Regions from separate parts of the Homo sapiens genome. Here regions 1, 2, 3, 4, 5 and 7 are each linked to region 6. Evidence: promoter capture Hi-C in 16 types of primary human blood cells and fetal thymus (Javierre and others, 2016). All regions are on one chromosome and are shown on one strand. The core of a region is centred on a gene start or on the middle of the fragment in contact, and the rest is flanking DNA. Distances in the headings are between cores, read along the strand shown. Region 1 overlaps VOPP1-DT (VOPP1 divergent transcript). Region 2 overlaps VOPP1 (VOPP1 WW domain binding protein). Region 3 overlaps VOPP1 (VOPP1 WW domain binding protein). Region 4 overlaps VOPP1 (VOPP1 WW domain binding protein). Region 5 has its middle 71 kb from the start of VOPP1-DT. Region 6 holds the start of SEC61G (SEC61 translocon subunit gamma). Region 7 overlaps VOPP1-DT (VOPP1 divergent transcript).

Region 1 (2,762 bases), core at 157-2,656, 830 kb after region 6:
CACCTCTCCTTTTCTTTTAGGGTGTCCATGGGGTTCAAGGGAAGGATGTTCCTGGTCTGAGGGGCTTCCCAGGAGAGAGAGGCCTCCTAGGCACTGCTGTGAGTGTGACTCCCAGAGCCCTGCCTGGACCAAGGACCAAGTGACCTGAACCCCTCCCTGACCCTGACCCTGCTCCATGCCACTCCCCACTCCCATCTCTCTGAACCTATCTCCTCTCGCCAGCCCTCACCCTTCTCTTTTCTGTGAAGCTCCACCTTCCCCAAATCTCTGCTTCAGAGTGTGGACCCAGCTTGAAGAGGAATGAGGTCCAGTTGGCCCCCTTACCCTGCAGGGAGCCTGGGGTTCCTGGGGAGTGGGAGGAGGGAACTAGGAAAGGGGGTGTTGAGGCAGGGTGGAGGTGGCATCCAGATCTACGCAGGTGCTGTGGGACTGGGCAGAGGGAATCTAGAGTCAGCCAGAATGCAGCTGATTTGGGGCTCTTCTCCTGGGAATTGTGCTCTGAGGGCCCTGGTATGAGTGGGCTTGGGTCTTCCTCCCTGGGGATCTCACTCATCTCAACTTTCAGGGTTCCCCCCTAGGGAGTGAGGTGCAGCAGGATCAAGGGACCCATTGCCCCCCGCCAGGGTGCCCAGGCCCTCAGGAACCCCCTGGATCAGCAGGAGAGACAGGTGTCCCAGTGAGAGTGGGGACCTTGGGAGTGGTTCTTGGGGAGGGGTCTGTGGGCTGAGGGGTGATGGGCTATGAAAGGTTTCCTGTGGGTGTTTGAGGGTGAGGGTCACCTCCAGGCCATGACTCCTCCTTCCTGCCCCACAGGGTGAAAAGGGCCCCATTTGTCTGCCTGGCTGTGATAGGGTGCAGAGTCCTGTGTGACTTCCTGGTCCTGCTGGGCCTCCAGGTGTGGCTGGAGAAGATGGAGACCAAGAGGAGAACCCCAGAGAACCCGACCAATCTTCTCTCCACATGAGAGGGCTGAGGTGGGCTTGACTCCTGAGCTCTATCATTTCCTCCCTCTGGTATCTCCTGTGCCTTCTCCTCCAGGATGAGGTGGGGGACCCCAGGAAGAAGGGCATCAAAGTGTCCATGACCTTGACGCCCTGGCCTTTAACCTCATTCCCTCCTGGTTCCTCCCTGCCTTGGTGTTTCTGACTCTCGTCTCTCCCCCAGGGCCCTCCTGGACCCCCTGGACTCACTGGTCCATGGAACAGCCTGTAGCAGTGGTGAGTGAACCCTCGGCCCCCACGCAAGGCCCTGGCAGCCTCTGCTCTGCCTTCAACTCCCCTTTGCCCCTGAGGCTGGGTTTGGGAGTGGGGTCTCTGGGCCTGGTACCCAGCTATGTATGGGGTTCGTGAATAGAGAATGCCTGACCCATGACCCATGTCTATGTCCTTGTCCCTGCTTCTCTCCTTCCCCAGGGAGCAGATTGGGAGCCCAGAGCTCAGGGACCCCAGGGACACTTTGGAGCCAGAGTGTGGGGAGCCAAAGGCAATAAAGGTAGAACAGGATTCATGAATCTATAGGTGAGATGCGGCTGGGGACGGGCTGAGAGGCAGTGTCAGGATGGGGTGATGTGTGTCCCAGACCCTGCCAGCAACATGCTTTAAGGACTGGGTTGGTGGGGGCAGAAGCCTGGGGGCCATGTGGGGTCTGAGTGGAGGGGCTGTGGGACCCATCAGTCTAGGGCTGTGCTTTGGGTGGGTGGTCACCTGGGTCCATGCTTTCTGCACCTGCATAGCGTGTGCCAGGTCCCTCTGGGGAGAAGGGAGAAACAGGAGATGTGGGTCCTATGGTGAATGTGACCCCTACTGACCCCAGACCCCAAATGGTCACCCCTGCCTGGCCAGCCCCCACCCCACTGCTGCCTCCCTGCCCTGACTGCTCTTCCTCCCTCCACACTCCTTCATTGTGCCATTTCACTTCCCTTCCCCACCTCTGGTGTATCTGTTCCCCTGCAGGGACTACCTGGACCCAGTGGCACTGGTGTGAGTCATCCCAGCCCCTGCCACTTCAGAGCAATGAGTCTGATCCTCTGCGTCCCTTTCCTCAGATCATAAACTCTTCGCCCCTGAGAAGCCCCTTCCCCTGGGAGGCCCCCACTGTCCCACTGCCATAACCTTGGGATGCTCATCTGGGCCTCTGCCCCTGCAATAACCCCACCTCCTGAAGCGATGTCACCTATTTCTCTTCCTCTTTCAGGGTCCACAAGATCCCCTGGGAGGTGTTGGGGCCCTGGGTCCCCCTGGAGAGAAGGTAATTGGGAAAGGGATGAAGGGGACCAGTCTTGTGGATGAGGAATGACAGTTGGATTTCTGCCAATTTTTTGTTGAGGAGACAAAAGAGAATAAAATGTGAGAAATACCAGGATTTTGTGAGGGGGCAATGAGGTTTTTGACCCCAATCTCTTTGCTCCTGGAGCCAGGAGAGTCAGGATCTCCAGGAATCCAGGGTGAGCCGGGTGTCAGGTGAGTGACAGCTCCAGGGCCCTGCTTCAGAATTCCCTTCACCCCTCTCAGCTGCACCCCCCCTCTTTTCCTGTGACTTCCTTGAGTTGTAGCTCCTCTGCGGCCAGGAGTCTCTGCTCCCAACCATCCTTGGAGTGAGGCTTTCCACCCTGTCCTTGAACGGAAGGGGACCAGGGGACTCCCCTTATAGGCTAGACTTTCTATGTGTATCCCATTGTCCTCAAGGGCAGTAGGGAGTGACTAAAGGTGTCTTGGAAGCAGGGGCTGCATCCCTGTTCTTCAAGACCCTCTGTGCCCTCCACT
Region 2 (2,722 bases), core at 25-2,524, 750 kb after region 6:
TCTGTCCTGCTCCTCCCTTGGCAGGACCCCCATTTCTACAGTTCTCACCATGTGCAATATTGTGGTTAACTGTTAGAGGCCTCTGTCTTCTACACCAGACATGACCTTGAGAGCAACCCCATCTCATTCCTCTATGCATAGTCCAGGTATCCACCTTGGTTTCAGAACCTTGTAAAGGTTTTGACTTAAACAGAAGGGATGTTGCAGCAGAAAGGGAAATCAGCAAAGATGGAAACAATATGAACTCAAAGCATACAAAGGAAACTGATTAAAATGTTAACACAGTGCTGGCGGGGACAGTTTGAAACAGGTGCTCCCAGGCAATGATAGCCTATTATCATGATGACCCTCAGGGAGAGCAGTCGGACGGTATTTAGTAGAATATAAGTATAAGCTTTGATTCAGCAATTCAATTTCTGCAAATTCACTCCATGTAATACAGCCAGCATTAAAATATATGAAACATCATACCAAACGGAACTTTTAAAGACTATAAATAGCCTCATGTCTGCTCAAATATGTTCTTGCTACCAAGTGAATTATTAAAAATTTGTTTAGGAGCACAGCTTAAAATTTTAGAATGTGAAAGAAAAATATCTTGAATCCCCAAATCACTAAGCTAAAAGGAAAATTCAAGCTGAAACTCCTCAGGGCAAACCTGCCTCCCATTCCATTCAAAGTCATCCTCTGCTCACTGAGATAGATGCATATTCTGATTGCCTCCTTTGGAAAGGCTTATCAGAAACTCAAAAGAATGCAACCACTTGTCCCTCACCTACCTGTGACCTGGAAGCCCTCTCCCTGCTTCCAGTTGTCCCTGCCTTTCCGGATGAACCAATGTACTTCTTACATATATTGATGATATCTCATGTCTGCCTAAAATATATAAAACCAAGCAGTGCCCCAACTGCCTTGGGCACGTGTTGTTAGGACTTCCTGGGGTTGTGACACTGGTGCACATCTTCAACCTTAGTAAAATAAACTTTCTAAATTAACTGACACCCGTCTCAGATTTACTGGGTTTATAAGAATTACAGACAAGGAACTGAGAACCTTCAATAGTTAAACAAAACAAAAACTCCTAAATATAGACACTACCTGTATAAATGAATGATGAGGCATCCCCAGGAAATATTCTGCTACTATCAAAAAGCATGAGGGGCTTTGTATACTGATTTAGAAGCATAGTCACAATGTACAGTTAAAAGGAATCAAGCTCAGCTGGGAGCAGTGGCTCACACCTGTATCGCAGCACTTTGGGAGGCCGAGGCAGGCGGATCACTTGAGGTCAGGAGTTCGAGACCAGCCTGGCCAACATGGTGAAGCCCCATCTCTACTAAAAATACAAAAATTAGCTAGGTGTCGTGGCACGTGCCTGTAATCCCAGCTACCCAGGAGGCTGAGACAGGAGAGTCGCCTGGACCTGGAAGGCGGAGGTTGCAGTGAGCCGAGATCGTGCCACTGCATTCCAGCCTGGGCAAGAGTGAGATTCCGTTTCAAAAAAAAAAGGAAAAGAAAAATAAATCAAGGTCACATTTTAGGGGTCTAAAGTTCTTAAGCAGAAGATCACCAGTGAAAATTTCTCCCTGTTATAGAGACGGTGTCTTCAACTTACACCAGGAATCTTCATTGATAAATCCAACAAGAACTGAGAGAAAAGAAATTCTGCTCTTGAATATCTGCCCCCTCCAGGCTGCAACCCGAAGGCTGTGCTCCATCTCCTGACGGCAAAATAGTGAGGGTCTGCAGCAGGCGTATGGAGCACTCAGCTAGGGAAGCGCCCCCGCCCCCATTGCCCTCTTCCACGCATCCTGGAAGGCCCCAGTGCTGCAGGAGAGCTCAGCGAAGGAGTCCAGCTGACTTCTGCACAGAGGGGCCTCCCCATCAGGCTCAGAGTCTGTCCACAGAGCCATAAAGGGCACCTGCTGGTGAGAGGTGACCTTGTGTCCAGGGAGCCTGGGACTGACTCTGGCACCTGCGCCCCTAGCAGGCAGGTAAAGTGGCCCAGCGGTGCTGGCTCTGCCAACCTTGTCTCTGGATCTTGATTTGACACCTGTGAACAGCACTTCATCCACTCACAGCATTAATTATTCACAGCAGAGAAATGAACCCAGAGGCAGCCAACAACACAGGGTAATATAAGCACTTTAAAAAGAAGCTTCACGCTCCAACAGGAAACTTGGGAATAGGGCCTGAAAGCAGCCTGGTCAAAATCGATAGTGCTGGCAGGAATGGGCTCTGCCTCCTGCTGGATAAGCCCTGGACCCTGGGCTCCTCCAGGACAGGCCCTGCCTCCCTCATCGCTAACTTCCCATCATCCCTACACACTGGCTCCCTCCCACTTGAGTGGTGCTCTGGAAATTACAGGTACTAGGTAAGCCATGACACTGATGATCGTATTCCTTAATTCTGTTTCATGGATCCTATCTTCCCCTTATCCAGCGGTTTGACAACATGCAGCCATCCATTTTTTCCCTTCCATGCTCTCCTTTGAGCTTGGCAGTGTGTGAATTCCCTATCGTCTCAGTGGAGTTGACTTCCGAGAAGCTTCCCCACATTCTTTCCTTCAGTGGTACCTAGATCTGAAGGAAAAACTAAAATAAGTGAGCAAACAGAACACCCAGAACCCAAATGCCCTGCAGCTCTGCCCCATCCATGTGACAGCCAGAGATGTGACCTAGTCATGCAAAAGACCTCTAAAGATGCTGCAGGCCCAGGGAGA
Region 3 (2,868 bases), core at 309-2,808, 790 kb after region 6:
GGTAATTTTTAACGGAATGGAAATGCTCGTGACAGAAGGATGCACTATTGAGTATATGTTAACGACCAGTGTATGAAAATTGCGCAGAAAATGGCTGGAAGGAAAACATGACCTATTTTCGTGTCTGTATATTTTTCTACTTTCCAATTATTCCACAATTAGAATGCATTAGGCTTATTTTCATAATAAAGCAATTAAATTTTAGAGTCAGAGGCTACACTGGCTTGAAGGAATCAGGGCAGGCTTCCTGGAGAAGGCTGTATCTAAAATGAGAACTAAGAGACACACAGGACAGCCCGAGAAGAGGGAAGGGCATGGTGACAGGCGAAGGGGCACATGACAGCATGAAGACACTGAGTGCTCTGGTTGGGTTGGCAAATTATCTCCCTGTTATGCAGAGAAAACAACAAACCATGAGCCCTACCATCCCGCAGACATAACTTCCCTCATCAGCCATAGCATTCTTCCAGACTTCTCTACAGCAAGGCACTCCAGGCTGTCGCTACCAAGAAGACAAGCAAGGCTTCATGTGAAATAAACCTATTTGCCATGCTTGCTGCTGTTTCATCACTCCTAGAGTCAATGGAAGTTTTCACTGACATCAAAGCAATGTCCTGGAATGTTAGGGCGTGGAGCACCAGAACCCCACGTGCACACCGTACACCTGTGCTGGCAAATACGTCCAGCAGGGCTGAAACAGCACAAAATGCTTTCCCTTCAAAATCGGGTTCTGAGTGCTCCCCAAAGCATGCCTCGAAAGTCAATTCTCCCATCAGACGCAAATAATTAAATGCACAAACACTTGGTGTTTCTTTCCCTCAGGAAATCTGTCAATAAGCTCTGGTCTAGTTTTTCCATTTCTAGAAATGGAAAAGGTCACCTTGTTTTTCCCCCTTCCCTTAGGAAAAAGGGAAAGAAACTCCAAGTGGGGAAGGGTTCAACACGGTCAGGGCTGAGGTGGAGGAAGAGGGCCTCTCTTTCATCTTACACGCAGTGGGAGGGAAAGCAGAAAAAATCTGAAGGAGGAAATTATCAAATACAAAATACATGTTGAAGGCTGGGCGGGGTGGCTCACGCCTGTAATCCCAGCACTTTGGGAGGCCCAGGAGCGTGGATCACTTGAGATCAGCAGTTTGAGACCAGCCGGGCCAACATGGTGAATCCCCGTCTCTACTAAAAATACAAAAATTAGCCACACATGGTGGCGCATGCCTATAGTTGCAGCTACTTGGGGGTCTGAGGCATGAGAATCGCTTGAACCTAGGAGGCAGAGGTTGCAGTGACCCTGCAGCCTGGGCAACAAGAGTGAGACTGTGTCCAAAAAAAAAAAAAAAAAAAAAAAAAAGGTGTTGACAAGGTGTGGAGGTGGAGGGAAAGCCCTGGGAGCCAGGTTAGCCAGGTCAGGGACCAGTGACCCTGTGGAAAAGGAAGCAGTGGGCCTACAAGGGTTGAGGTCTGTGCCTCTGCTAGTTATTAACATGCACTGCATGGGCAAGGCAGTCCACTGAGGGACTGGGTAAGATGGACAAATATAAGCACCTTTTGGATTTAGAAATAGCAATGACAGAAAGAAGGTAATTTAGCTGATTTTAAAACCTCCGTACAAAATGCCTCTCCTCCCAAGAAGCTCAGACTATCGCAAAATGCTGTTCTCTTCATAGGAATGGGGTGGGAAATAGTTTCCCATTTCTGTCTTAAATCAAATGGCTGCCTCTATCAGAAAGCAGATGACACATATTAAGGATGCCAGCTACCCCTTATTAGACACCCATTATTTTTCAGACCTACACACTCACACAGGATGGATCTCCATGCTTACACATGCCCAGCAACACAAGCATGATTTTCCCAGGGTGACAAATGAAGTCTAGGAAAACGCTAAGTGATTGATGCCTCAAAAGAAAGTGCTGGAACCAGGTCTGTGTGGCTCCAAAGTTGCCCTTTTCCTACCATATGACACCGCCTTCCAACAATGGGGGGCACTCAGGTCCTGGAGCCCCAGCCCCTCCGAAGGCAGGAGTCTGGTCGCCAGGTTGCCGGCACACGGAGTTCACGCAGAGAGGCAGCAAGTGGAGCCTGTTCTCCTAGGAAACCTCCCATGGGCTGAGTCACTCAGCCATGCTCAACCCAGAAAGGTGACGGAGCACTATGGCAACACAACAGGATTTCCTCCTAGACTAAACTCCTGAACCCGAAGAAAAAATTATACGTGCTGCTAGCTGCAAATTGCTGACAAATGCTAAGGCGCTGTAGGAAAAGACATGCAACCGAAATCTGTCTGCTGCACCATTCCAATCAAAGTCAGGTGGGAGCTTTTTGTCTGAGTTTCAGTGTTATTGCTACAGCAAAAATGACAAATGCTTGACAATATAATTATGACTGTCAATCTTCCTAAAATAAACTTGGAAACATTCAAAGAGTAACAGTATAGGCAGACAAGTTAATTATATCTCATAATCTCATTTCCAATATATGTGTTGCCCTAGCAGGAGGCATTGTTGGAAAGGAGCTGCAGTTCCTCTGTTATACAGGCTATTTTTATATTTTAGATTCATATTTTAGTTCCAACACCTAACAGGATTTTATTGGGGAGAAATTTTCATTTCTACTTTTGCAGTACTTGGGAGGAGTCACCAGTAAAAACCTCTTTAAGGGGACTGCTTCCCAGAGTGAGGAAAATAAAAAGACTAGCCTGGGGAGCAACGGGCTGTTTTCCCATGTTGCAGACCCAAAGGTCACTAGGCTTGGCTGTAAACTCCAATTCATTTACCATAAAATAAATATTATTTAGATGATAGATCTAGGCCTAACATTTCTGGTTTTCATTTAAATATATCCCTTAACGAAACCAATGATACAAATTAGGGG
Region 4 (2,700 bases), core at 70-2,569, 730 kb after region 6:
ATATCCTGGGATCAGCCACACCGTTGCAGGCCTGCAAGAAGTATAAAATGAAAAACGGATGGCAAACCAAGTCTACATTTTGGTCAGAGAAGATGCGCTGGGACCAGCAGCCACTCGCTGTAGAGAGCTGGGGGCTTACTTATTCTTAATCCAAATGGCTCTTCCGTGGGAAGCCTTCCTGGAGTTGTGCACCAGATGGAGTCTCCTACTTACATGGTTTCCTAGCATTCTCAACTTTCTCTCCCTCGCACTCATGATGGTCAGTCACTATAGAGTTGTTTGCGTGAAAGCTCACACGGGTGCTGGAGCTGTGCATGCAGCGGTGACTGAGGGCAGGTGTCCAGGCTGTGCAGTGTTTTGAGCTCCTGCAGGCGCCTCAGCAGGTGTGCAGTAAATATGGGCCAAGACAGCAATTCAGGCAGGTCTGCGCTCCAGGCTGTGACTGTAGTTGTGATGTATTCCGACCCTGGTTTACCAGGCTGCAAACCTGGGAGCTCCCACAGTTCATCCAGCCTGAGGATGAGGGCCGGGCATCTACTTGGTGCCTGAGACCATGAGTCCTGTACACAGCCCCGTGGGGAGCCCAGTGTAAACATGGAGCATTAAAGCTGGTAAAGCCCCTGGCAGGGGACCCAGGGAGAAAGTGGAGATGTGAAGCAGCCAGAGACAACTTCACTATGGGTACAACACAGAGCAGCACCTTGGAGGAAGGCATTTTCCAGGCAGAAGGAGGGCGTGTGCAGGCCTCAGTGCGATGCAGGACTAGAGAGAGGAGGTCGCTCAAACTGGACACAGAGGAGCGGGGATGGGTCTGAGGAAGCTGTGAATGCGTCCTCAGTCCTCAGCTAGGGACTGTGGACTTACACTGTGAGCCAGGTGAGCTGGCAGAGACCCTGCCGCAGAAAAATAGCACGGCCGATGTGCTTCTGTTTTTTGTTTTTTAAGACCCTTCTGATAGCCAAGTGGAAGACAGAGGAGCTGGTGGAGACCAGTGGCCAGCAGGCACTGCTCCAGGGTGAGATAAGGGATGTGGCAGATCTAATCGCCTGGTTGCTGGGGATTCTCCCAGACAGATGGAGCGGGGTTAGGTGGGGTGTGGGGCTGTGCAGAACAGAGGGATGGGACCAGAAAGGAGTGCACATAGGGATGCATTCTCTTCTCAAAACCCTGGCATGCCAGGGTTCAAAAGAATTATGCAGCTGCAGGCACAGTCTCAGCACCTCACCTACTCACCACAAGAGCCCCAGTTCACATGAGTGGTAGACTCTGAGCTCGGCCAGGACCACGGACCAGGGACATGTGGCCTTCTGCACTGGGGGCAGTGGGGCCTCCCATGCCAAGTGGGGCAGGGGCTGCTCCTCCCTGTACTAAAACCTCTCTGACTGATCCAGATGAGACCCAGTGAGTGGCGGCTTTCATCTCTCATTTTAACAGAAATTTTGCACTTTACCCTATGATGCAGCACAAATCTGAAACGATTCAAATATTTCCAAATATCAAAGGCTAAAATCCACTTACGGATTCAAAATGGTACTAACCTGACTGTAAGTTTAAGGCACAGCTCTCAGTGAACTGCTGTGGAAAATATATATTTTTCTGAGCAACATTTTTTAAAATAAAGAAAATTCTTTCTGAAAGGAAAACCCTGTGGAGTATCTGGTGGAAAAAAGCTGTAAAAGAACAAATATGCAAATGACTTTGCATCTTGATAACAGCCTGTTCTCAGGAAAACAGAAGAGAGAAGATAATTTTCTCCTATTACATTCAATCCCTCTACTTCTCTCCTATTTAAAAACCACTTTATTGAGGTCTGACTGACAGGCAAAAAGCTGTGCATGTTTAAGACCTACAACCTGATGAGTTTAAAGACAGGGGCACATCCAGAAAACCATAGCCATGCTCTATTCCATAAACATCTCTATTACCTACAAAAGTTTTCTCTGCTCTTCTTGTTATTTTTGTGTGATAAGAACATATATTAACATAAGACCTACCCTCTTAGCAAAATTTTAATTATACATTACAGTTGTATTAATTGTAGGTCCTACACTGTACAATAGATCTCTAGGACTTATTCATTTTTCTTAACTGAAACTTTGTAAAAGCGAAGGCATCCACTGCTCCTAGAACTGACCACCTATCCACAGTGTGCAATCAATAGACAGTCCCATCCCCAGGCTCCCAGGTGGAAACTGTGGCTGGGAGCATGGCGGTGCAGACATCAGCAACACCCCTCTGCCCAGCCTCACTCTACACCTGGCCAGAAGACCAGCGCTCTGATGAGCCGAGCCAGCCCAGCCCTCCAGGACCCTTGGCTCCCCGCTGTCATCAGAGAGCTCCCTGGCCTGTGTCCTAAGGAAGTCCACACCACCCACCACAGTATGTAGGAGTTTTAGATGGCTAAGGCAATGTTTTACAAGAATTAAGAAACAGCTAATTCATTTTGACCCTGGGATGTCACTTTGGGTGTTATGCACTAAACAGACTACATGTGACCTGTACAAGAATGTCTATTGCTATGGTCTTTGTAAGTATTTGGAATACTAGTAACTGCACAATGAATACTTGTTGAATGCATGAATAAAAGACAAAACATGAGAAAACAAAACAAATTATCAGCAATAATAAAATATCTAAGCAAATTACCATTTAGTAACATAATTAGTATCTAGTCCAGAAGCACTAAAAATGGCAGGGGTA
Region 5 (2,928 bases), core at 132-2,631, 880 kb after region 6:
TGGTGATGTCACTGCCCTTATGAATTTTGAAAGCTTTACTGTGAAGGGTGTTAAATGAGTAACATGTAGTAAGGTATTTGTAGACACATACTTAAAAGATATTTCTAAGATGTTGCTGGAAAAATGAATTTGTAAATGTATTAATTTAGTGATTTCAAGTGTTTACCAATTGCAAATATATAATAAAATGTTTAAATATGTTTATTTAAAGAATACCTTTAAATAAACCTCTTAAAATCTTTGTTGTGAAGACTGTTCTTTTAGTAAGTGGATATGTGTGTGAGGTTGTAGACACTTACATTAAAGATAATTCTAATAATGTTATTTATTAGATGAGTTGGTTACTATGTTAACTCATTGAATGCAAGTGCTTACCACATTATAAAGTATGCAATAATGTGTTTAAACATGTTTTAAAAGATGCTTTTGTTATTCATTTTAAGAGCTTTGTAATGAAGAGTGTTATTTCAGTGAGTGGATGTAATACTATGTAGGGAATAGTTAGTAGACACATGGCTAAAAGATGATCTAAGTGTGTCATTGATAAAATGAGTTGGTGACTATGTTAATTCAGTGAATGCAAGTATTATCAAACTGGAATGTATGTAATAAAGTGTTTAAACATGGTTCTTTAAAGATTTTTCTTACCACGCATTTTATTTTATTTATATATATATTTTTTGAGATGGAGTCTCACTCTGCCACCCAGGCAGGAGTGCAATGGTGCAATCTTGGCTCACTTCAACTTCCTGTGCCCCCCAGGTTCAAGTGATTCTCCTGCCTCGGCCTCCCAAGTAGCCGGGACTACAGGTGGATGCCACCAGGCTCGGCTAATTTTCTTTGTACTTTTAGTAGAGACAGGGTTTCACCATATTGGCCAGGCTAGTCTCGAACTTCTGACCTCAGGTGATCTTCCCGCCTCAGCCTCCCCAAGTGCTGGGATTACAGGTGTGAGCCACCGCGCCCAGCCTCTTTCCATGCATTTTAAAAGCTTTGTTCTGAAAATTGTTACATCAGTGAGTGAACGTGGCTCACTGTAAAGTGTTTATAAGCACATGCTTAAAAGATGATTCTAAAAATGTTACTGATGAGTTGATAATAGTGTTAATTCAGTGAATGTAAGTATTAATTAAATGCAAGTGTTTACCAAATTGTAAAGTATGTAATGAAGTCCTTAAACATGCTTATTTATAGATTTTTTAAATTATGCATTTAAAAATCTTTCTTGTTAAGAGTGTTATGTTAGAGAGTACGTCTAATATTTCACTACATACACCTCACTAGGTTTGCAGGCACATGTTAAGAAGATAAAACGGATAATGTCACTTAAAATATATGTTGTTAACTGGATTAATTCCGGGAATTTAAGTGTTTAATAAGCTATCATACATGTGTAAAGTGTTTAAGCATTTTTTTTTTTTTTTTTTACACAGAGTCTCACTCTGTCACCCAGGCTGGAGTGGTGTGCGATCTCGGCTAGCTGTAGCCTCTGCCTTCTGGGTTCAAGCAATTCTCCTGCCTCAGCCTCCTATAGCTGGGACTATAGGTGCCCGCCACCACACCTCGCTAATTTTTGTATTTTCAGTAGAGATGGGGTTTCACCATGTTGGCCAGGCTGGTCTCAAATTTCTGACCTCAGGTGATCTGCCCCACCTCAGTCTCCCAAAATGTTGGGATTACAAGCGTGAGCCACCCTACCATGGCCAACCAAGCATATTTTTTTAAAGATGTTTCTTACCATTGCATTTTGGGTAAGAAACATTCTATGGCAAAAAGCTTTTATTTTAATGAGTGGATCTAACGTACGTAATGTATGTAGTGAAGTGTTTATATGATGAAAGATAAATCTAAGAATGCTACTTAAAAGATGTGTTGTTAACTGTATTAATTCAGTAAATTAAAGTGTTTACCAAGCTGTATAGTATACAATAATGTGTTTAAATATGCTTCTTTAAAGATATTTGTTACCAGAGAGGGTAATGTCAGCAAGTTGTTAGAATAGAAACTATCTCACTCTACTTACTTCCACAGAAATTCAACTAACAATTTTCCACAGTTTAGAGTATCTTTGTAAATATCCCAGAACTTGAGAGTGAATCTGAGACATCTTCTTGAACTACAGACCGAGAGAAGCCATGCATAAAGCGTAAGAGGAATGATTTCACTTTGACCAAGTTGCTCTTCTCCCAAAACTGCACAGTGCCACACACAGTGTTTTCCAGTAACCATGTTATTTTTTCAGAGGGAGAAAAAAATTGGAGGTGAATATTTAGCTTTCCTATTATTCTGGGGCCATTCACAGGAGATACCATCTTGTCTCACCTCATGGGACATATTGGAGGGTATCAGAGGAGCTGGTCCTACCCTAGCCTACGTGTTTTTCCAGCCCAGTACCATTTCATCTCACCAATACTCACACTGACCCCAGGACATCCTGAAGGCTCAGATCTAGCCTTTCTTCCTCTTTGCAAAAAGACCTTTCTCTACCCAGACATACAGGGACACCATTTTATACACCCACCTTAGGTGTTCTAAGGAAAAGCGCTTATCCTGATTGACATATCTGTGAAAAGTAAACAACTTTCCCAGTGGAAGGTGACAGAATTTGGGCTGCTCTGATTAAAATTATCTGGCTTAGTGCTTGCTACAGGTGTAGGGTCAGATAGAAATTGCAGGGAAAGATTACTGTTGCCGTTTCGGTTCCCTCCCCTGCCAGTAGGTGAAAAGCTAGCCCTATGGCCTGTAGTATAAATATAAGTGCATCTGTGTGTGTTTGGTGTGTGTGTTTGCATTATGTTTATTACATGCACATTTATACAAATATGTATTTATATATTTATGTATGCATAAATGTATATTTTTATGTTATTACATATAAGATCTTTATTTTATTATTTATAATATATATGAATTTTTTCCTGCTTGCAT
Region 6 (2,923 bases), core at 198-2,697:
ATTTTTGGAAATTTCAGTTAATTATCAAAGGCAATAAGAAAAGCACAGATCTTACTCATGATATCTTCACTGACAAAGAACAGCACACGCAATATAAAAAGCCTATCTCTATTAAAAGGTTAAAAAAGGTTACGCAATTGGTAACACATCCATTCCTTTTCTCACTCTGCAGTCCCATCCATTTCTCATTCTACAGTCCCCTCACCGCTCCTAAGGAACCATCAGTGTTGAGATCCAACAATTACTTTCCATATTTTATTTTAAACTACGCAGAAGCCAGTGTCTTGTACAGTGAATGCCAACTACGGTGCTGCAAGAGCCTAGAATAGAGGCAAACGTGAATTTCAACCTTGATTTTTCTAAAACGTGCCAATACAACATACTTTTCTAAAGTATAAAGAATGGCTAAAGGAAGACGCAAATTCTGAGAAGCTACTAGCTAAATTTCAAACTTTTCGATTTGAACACATCTTTTAAGGAAACAGGGCTATATATTTTACCATACAGGTTCTTTTGAGGAATCTATTACCCAATAGAAATGTTATCCGATCTTAGCTTTGAGAGCCACTGCTATAGTAAGTAAAGCAGCCAGGGTGTTATTTGTATTTTCCTCCATTTCCAGTACTCAGAACAGTGGCCAGGTGGTAGTTCAAATCACTGGCTATGGAATGTAAACCTCTGTAAGCCCCAGTTGCCTTCCTTAGTGTAGGGTGTGGACAACGAAATGAAATAATGTCAATGAAACACCAGGAATTCTGCAACGTTCTGGGGGCAAAAACACAGTAATGTCTGTTTTCTCAGTATTTCACTCAACTTTGCTCTTGAAATCCAAAGGGCTTAAACTTTTTGTAATCATAGTTGTCACGAAGGAAGCTAAGAATTCTTTATCCAGAAAAACGCACGCTACACACAATACCGCACTCAATGTCAGGGGTAGAGATCCAAAAACCAACTATGATCTCTCGAACTAGACTCTAGACCAATGCTCTCACTTTAAACCACGGAAGCGGCGGCAGGACCAGAGCTGAGTACAGCTCTTCCCAGACAGGACTCCACAACAGCACACAGAGCCAACCCCGAAGGGATCGGGCAGCAGGACATCATCTTTGGCTGCAGCACAGAAGACGCCGGGGCAGGACGCTAAGCCCTGGAGCCCCGCGGGCCGGCCACCCAGCTCGCCGGGAGTCCGCGGCCCTGGGTCTGCCTTCCGCCAGAGGCCGAGTTGGTGGGATGTCGGCGGCCAGACCCCGGCCCTGAGCCAGGGGACCACTTACCGCCCGCCCCGCGACGGCCGCCCGGGGAGACACGCCGGCTCGCCCACGCCCGCTGCCCCCAAGAGTCGCAAAGGTGTGGCCGCCCCGTTCGCCCGTACCGACCGGTGGGAAGAAACTCACCTACCCAACCGACACCTAAAATGCCAGGGACACGTAGCACTGGAGCTTGCTGATGGAGGCCCACCGGAACCGGAATCCGGGTTTCTGCCAACAGCCCGCCCACTCCTCCGTCCTATTGGTTCCTTACGCGAAACCTCAGTGCGCAAGCGCAGCGCGACGTGCGCCCGGCCACGCTTCCTGGAAGAGATGCATTGCGGAGCTCGCTAGTTGGGGCGTTGGCCTTCCTTAGGAGTGTGAGTCTAGCGTTATCCCTTTTTTCCGGCTGGATCCCGGGTTACCCCACCAGCCCGACCTCAACCCACTCACGTCCACAGCACGAGCCCCAGCGGCCTTGCGCGGTGCTTGCTCTCTAGTAGCGGCTGACTAGGTAAATCCTAAGTTGTGGTTTTTTTTCCTGCGGTCCAGCTTGATGTGTGTCCTTACGGTACATACTTTTTGTATGTATATAATGTTGGTCGAAATGAAGCTTATGAGCAATATAATGTTATGGCCTAATTCAAAATAGTATCCCCACCCCAAACTTTGACTTTGGCTGTCATTCACGGTAATGAATGCCGCTGTAATTGAGGCCTTTGTCAAACGCTAGGTTTGGTTACGGGAGTGGTCATAATGTACACACAGCTCCCCACTTACCCACAAGGATGCATTCCAGGAACCCCCCGCCGGATGGCTGAAACCGTCAGTAGAGACGGGGTTTCACCATATTGGCCAGGCTGGTCTTGAACTCCTGACCTCGCGATCCACCCGCCTCGGCCTCCCAAAGTGCTGGGATTACAGACGTGAGCCACCGCGCCCGGCCATGTTTCCTTTTAGCAATGGAGCATAACGGGATCTGAGGAACAATATAACTCAGGAAGAGCTGATGGAACATTAAGACGTGTTACAACTCTCAGTGCTTCTTAAACTTCTTCAGTAACTGAAATCTCCTGTTAAGTTTTTTAGTAAATGAAATTTGTAACCCCAGAACCTCCAGATATTGATTCAGTGGGTCAGGGTTAGAGGTCACACACCTCCGTATATCTGACTGTAGGTGGTCCATACACACTACACATACCTTGCCTTAGCTTTAAGAGTCACTTTTAAATTCTGAACAGACTGAGATGCGTTTGACTAGTTCTTCATCCCTGGGACTTCAGCCCATGTGTCATCTCCTTAGAGGCCTATAGTGACCATCTAAGGCAATCCTGTCTATCTCATGCTCTTTTTTCCTTTTTCACAATACCTTCTTCATTTGCTGCATAGCATTTGTATTAACATTTATTTATTTATTCCTCGGTCTGTCTCCCTACACTGTAAATCCCCTTACTAGACCATAAGCTCCAAGTGGGTATAATATAGCATCTAGTAAAGTGCTAAACACAGTAAATGCTCAATAAATAATTTTCAAAAAAATAATTCATTCCAAAAAAACATAAAATCACATGTTGGCAAGTTCACCCCAACCACCAAATGTCTGAGTTGACAGTATTTTCAGCAAAACACAGAAAATCAAGTAACACATACAGTGGTTCCCCTTATCCAAGAAAATC
Region 7 (2,700 bases), core at 43-2,542, 820 kb after region 6:
AGATGTACCAGATCCTGAGTTGGAGGCTGAGAGGAGGACAAGAAAACTGCTCCCGTAGCCTAGAGGGAGGGAGAGTCGCTTAAACCACCTGATGCAGAATGCTGAGTGCGGAGACCAGGAGGTGGGTGCATCACAGAGGGTCATAAAGGACATGAGCTGCGCAGTACAGGAGGTGGAAGGAGGGGGTCACACGAACAGATGTCACCCGAGGCAAGTCCCCAACTCTTTCCCAGCTTTCAAAGCCTAATTTGATTAATATAGAGCATGCACCACCTGACTATACCTGTCAGAGCCAGAACTTACAAGTAAGACAGAAACAATGCCTATGGCCTTCAGTCATGCTAAGGCACCTATCTGACAAGCCTGCCAAACGCCATTGAACTCTAGTAGTTTTACTATTTACAATGAGGACATTTTACAACTCTTTTTAATGGAAAAGTTAACTTGTAGAAAACTAAGCTGAAAGCTTATTGTGTGTTAGCAAGACAAATGTTTTTCCAGTGGGGATAGAAGTGATCTCGTCCTGTAAAAATGCAAATGGGCCAGGCAGGGTGGCTCATGCCTATCATCCCAGCAGTCTGGGAAGCTGAGGTGTGAGAATTGCTTGAGCCCAGGAGTTCACCAACCCCAACCTGGGCAACACAGCAAGAACCTGTCTCCATTAAAACGTGTGTGTGTGTGTGTGTGTGTGTGTGTATAAGACAAATGACCCCTGCTTAAGGTGAGAATCATAACCAGCTTCCTATCTGATTGAGCCACTTCATTCCCAGCGTTTCCTTTCTCTTTTCTCCCCGCTTTTGACTGTGTGTGTAGGTCACTTGCCTGCATTCTCCTTTGAAGCACCTTTGTCATCCCACTGTTTCCATCATTAATGGGTTAAAATGGAACTTTGACTTGTGTCCACGATGTATTCGTGTGCAAATTGTGGTTCTGTTGCATTGTGAGCAACCTACTAGTGTCTGACATAACCTCCCTTCTGCATCTCTCTCTGCCTGGAAGATTGTTTTGCTGAGCTCGACTTCCTGTAATTTGTGCAAGTTTTTTTCCAAGAATAAAATTAGAACTGTGACTCTGCTTTCACCTCAGTCTGATACCTCTCCTGTGTGCTCTCTGTTTGGTCCTGAATGATGTGGTGGTTGCTTGGCATGGTTGGAGGATGGGGTGTAGGCTAACCAGCCAGGCTGTTTCCTTGAGCACAAATTATAAGGGCATCAGATACCACTGAAAAAGTTACAAGATAAAGCTGCATTCACTAGAACAACTGTTAAAGTTGGACTTGGGGTTAGAAGAAAGTTCTTGATGAGTTGTTTGGGGCAGGACTGGACATGTCCTGGTCTGCTCAGCTGCCCCTGAGGAGTAAGGACCCAGAGCCTGGAGCATGTGTGTTGCCAAAGGAAACAAATAAGAGAGAGACTGGGCTTGACCTGTAGCTTCCCTGCAAAACTGTGGAGTCTACATGAATGATGAACATGTATTTCATTTATTCAATAAATATTTATCTGCATCTGTTTTGGGCCAGGCACTATTCTGGACATTTCGGATACAGCCCTGAGTAAAATAGACAAAGCAGTGGCATAAAAGGCAGAGTGGCTGCTGTCATGCAGATTTCAATCTAGTGAGGGGTAACAGAGAATAGAATAAATAAATAAATATGTATATAAGTGCCAGAAAGAAAAATAAATTGAGTGAAACATTTGGAAGGTAAGACTGAGTGTAATTAAAAATACAAGGGTCGGCCGGACACAGTGGCTCATGCCTGTAATCCCAGTACTTTGGGAGGCCGAGGAGGGCAGATCACCTGAGGTCGGGAGGTCGAGACCAGCCTGACCAACATGGAGAAACCCTGTCTCTACTAAAAATACAAAATTAGCCGGGCATGGTAGTGCATATGTCTGTAATTCCAGCTACTCGGGAGGCTGAGGCAGGAGAATCGTTTGAACCCGGGAGGCAGAGGTTTTGGTGAGCCGAGATCGCACCATTGCACCCCAGCCTGGGCAACAAGAGCTAAACTCCGTCTCAAAAAAAAAAAAAAATAGGAGGGCCAGGCCAGGCCCCTATGGCAAATTGCCAGGAGCAGAGACCCAAAGGTAGGAAAGGGGGCAAAACAAGACTATTAATCAAAGCTTTGAGGCAGGAAAAACGGGCCTGAGGAATTTCCTGACAGGATCGGTGAGGCTGGAGCTCTGTGCTCCCTTAGCAGGGGTAGAATCTGAATTCAAAGAAGAAATGGACGCTCAGATTTGTAGTCCATTATAAGGATCTTGGATTTAGTTCTGAAAGAAATGGGATATCATTTGAGGATTTTGAGCTGAAAAGTAATGTAATCTGGCTTAAGCCTTCAAAGCATCAGCCCTAGTGCTGTGTAGAAAACAGACTAGGGCAGGGTTGGGAAGGGTGGAGGGAAGGGTGGAGGCTGGAAGAGCAGTGAGGAGATGGATGTGATGTTGATACCAGTGGGCTAGGGGAGGTCCCCCAAATGCCAAGGGGATCTTGACCTCCGCCGGTGTCCAGCCTCTTGACACCATCACAAGAAGGAATTCAAGGATGAGTCGAAAATAGTGAAAGTATGATTTATTGCAAAGCAAAAAGCACTCAAGAAAGCGATTGCTGGCATACTCAAGAGAGAGTTGTGCAAATGGAGTTTGGGGCTGCTACTACCTTTATGGGTTTCTTTAATCAAGAGGTGGAATATTCATGAAA

The links. The method cuts DNA at HindIII sites, captures the fragments that hold promoters and counts their contacts. A CHiCAGO score of 5 or more calls a contact.
Region 1: a contact is called between a fragment that was not itself captured here and the fragment with the promoter of SEC61G in region 6, in 11 of 17 cell types (naive CD4 T cells, fetal thymus, total CD4 T cells and 8 more). The highest score is 13.3, in naive CD4 T cells.
Region 2: a fragment that was not itself captured here is called in contact with the fragment with the promoter of SEC61G in region 6 in 5 of 17 cell types (monocytes, naive CD8 T cells, total B cells and 2 more); the score reaches 7.7 in monocytes.
Region 3: a fragment that was not itself captured here is called in contact with the fragment with the promoter of SEC61G in region 6 in 3 of 17 cell types (monocytes, total B cells and fetal thymus); the score reaches 8.1 in monocytes.
Region 4: a contact is called between a fragment that was not itself captured here and the fragment with the promoter of SEC61G in region 6, in 2 of 17 cell types (non-activated CD4 T cells and naive CD8 T cells). The highest score is 5.4, in non-activated CD4 T cells.
Region 5: a contact is called between a fragment that was not itself captured here and the fragment with the promoter of SEC61G in region 6, in 2 of 17 cell types (non-activated CD4 T cells and fetal thymus). The highest score is 5.8, in non-activated CD4 T cells.
Region 7: a fragment that was not itself captured here is called in contact with the fragment with the promoter of SEC61G in region 6 in 12 of 17 cell types (non-activated CD4 T cells, total CD8 T cells, activated CD4 T cells and 9 more); the score reaches 14.3 in non-activated CD4 T cells.

Annotation. Positions count from the first base shown.
Region 1 is chr7:55,589,491-55,592,252 of GRCh38, forward strand. It overlaps VOPP1-DT (VOPP1 divergent transcript), which reads left to right. Exons shown (of 17, transcript NR_187585.1): 7 at 21-668; 8 at 814-974; 9 at 1,165-1,217; 10 at 1,413-1,491; 11 at 1,953-1,979; 12 at 2,194-2,247; 13 at 2,417-2,459. Among named protein-coding and RNA genes, the nearest start is that of VOPP1-DT, 18 kb to the left of the region's middle. The HindIII fragment of the contact is 8,588 bases long and covers 1-2,762 here.
Region 2 is chr7:55,510,926-55,513,647 of GRCh38, forward strand. The region is part of intron 2 of VOPP1 (VOPP1 WW domain binding protein); the gene reads right to left. Among named protein-coding and RNA genes, the nearest start is that of VOPP1, 60 kb to the right of the region's middle. RefSeq lists enhancers at 133-182, 846-995, 1,337-1,858, 1,859-2,380. The HindIII fragment of the contact is 1,764 bases long and covers 393-2,156 here.
Region 3 is chr7:55,550,703-55,553,570 of GRCh38, forward strand. All of the region lies in intron 1 of VOPP1 (VOPP1 WW domain binding protein), which reads right to left. Among named protein-coding and RNA genes, the nearest start is that of VOPP1, 20 kb to the right of the region's middle. The HindIII fragment of the contact is 3,615 bases long and covers 1-2,868 here.
Region 4 is chr7:55,489,255-55,491,954 of GRCh38, forward strand. The region is part of intron 4 of VOPP1 (VOPP1 WW domain binding protein); the gene reads right to left. Among named protein-coding and RNA genes, the nearest start is that of VOPP1, 82 kb to the right of the region's middle. The HindIII fragment of the contact is 8,751 bases long and covers 1-2,700 here.
Region 5 is chr7:55,642,031-55,644,958 of GRCh38, forward strand. No RefSeq gene overlaps it. Among named protein-coding and RNA genes, the nearest start is that of VOPP1-DT, 71 kb to the left of the region's middle. The HindIII fragment of the contact is 785 bases long and covers 990-1,774 here.
Region 6 is chr7:54,757,764-54,760,686 of GRCh38, forward strand. It overlaps SEC61G (SEC61 translocon subunit gamma), which reads right to left and starts at 1,448. Exons shown (of 4, transcript NM_014302.4): 1 at 1,395-1,448. It overlaps SEC61G-DT (SEC61G divergent transcript), which reads left to right and starts at 1,550. Exons shown (of 3, transcript NR_110040.1): 1 at 1,550-1,761. RefSeq lists a silencer at 1,098-1,417 and an enhancer at 1,651-2,586. The HindIII fragment of the contact is 2,422 bases long and covers 1-1,858 here.
Region 7 is chr7:55,573,197-55,575,896 of GRCh38, forward strand. VOPP1-DT (VOPP1 divergent transcript) reads left to right here. Exons shown (of 17, transcript NR_187585.1): 1 at 1-121. Among named protein-coding and RNA genes, the nearest start is that of VOPP1-DT, 1.8 kb to the left of the region's middle. RefSeq lists enhancers at 689-768, 1,099-1,238. The HindIII fragment of the contact is 1,657 bases long and covers 465-2,121 here.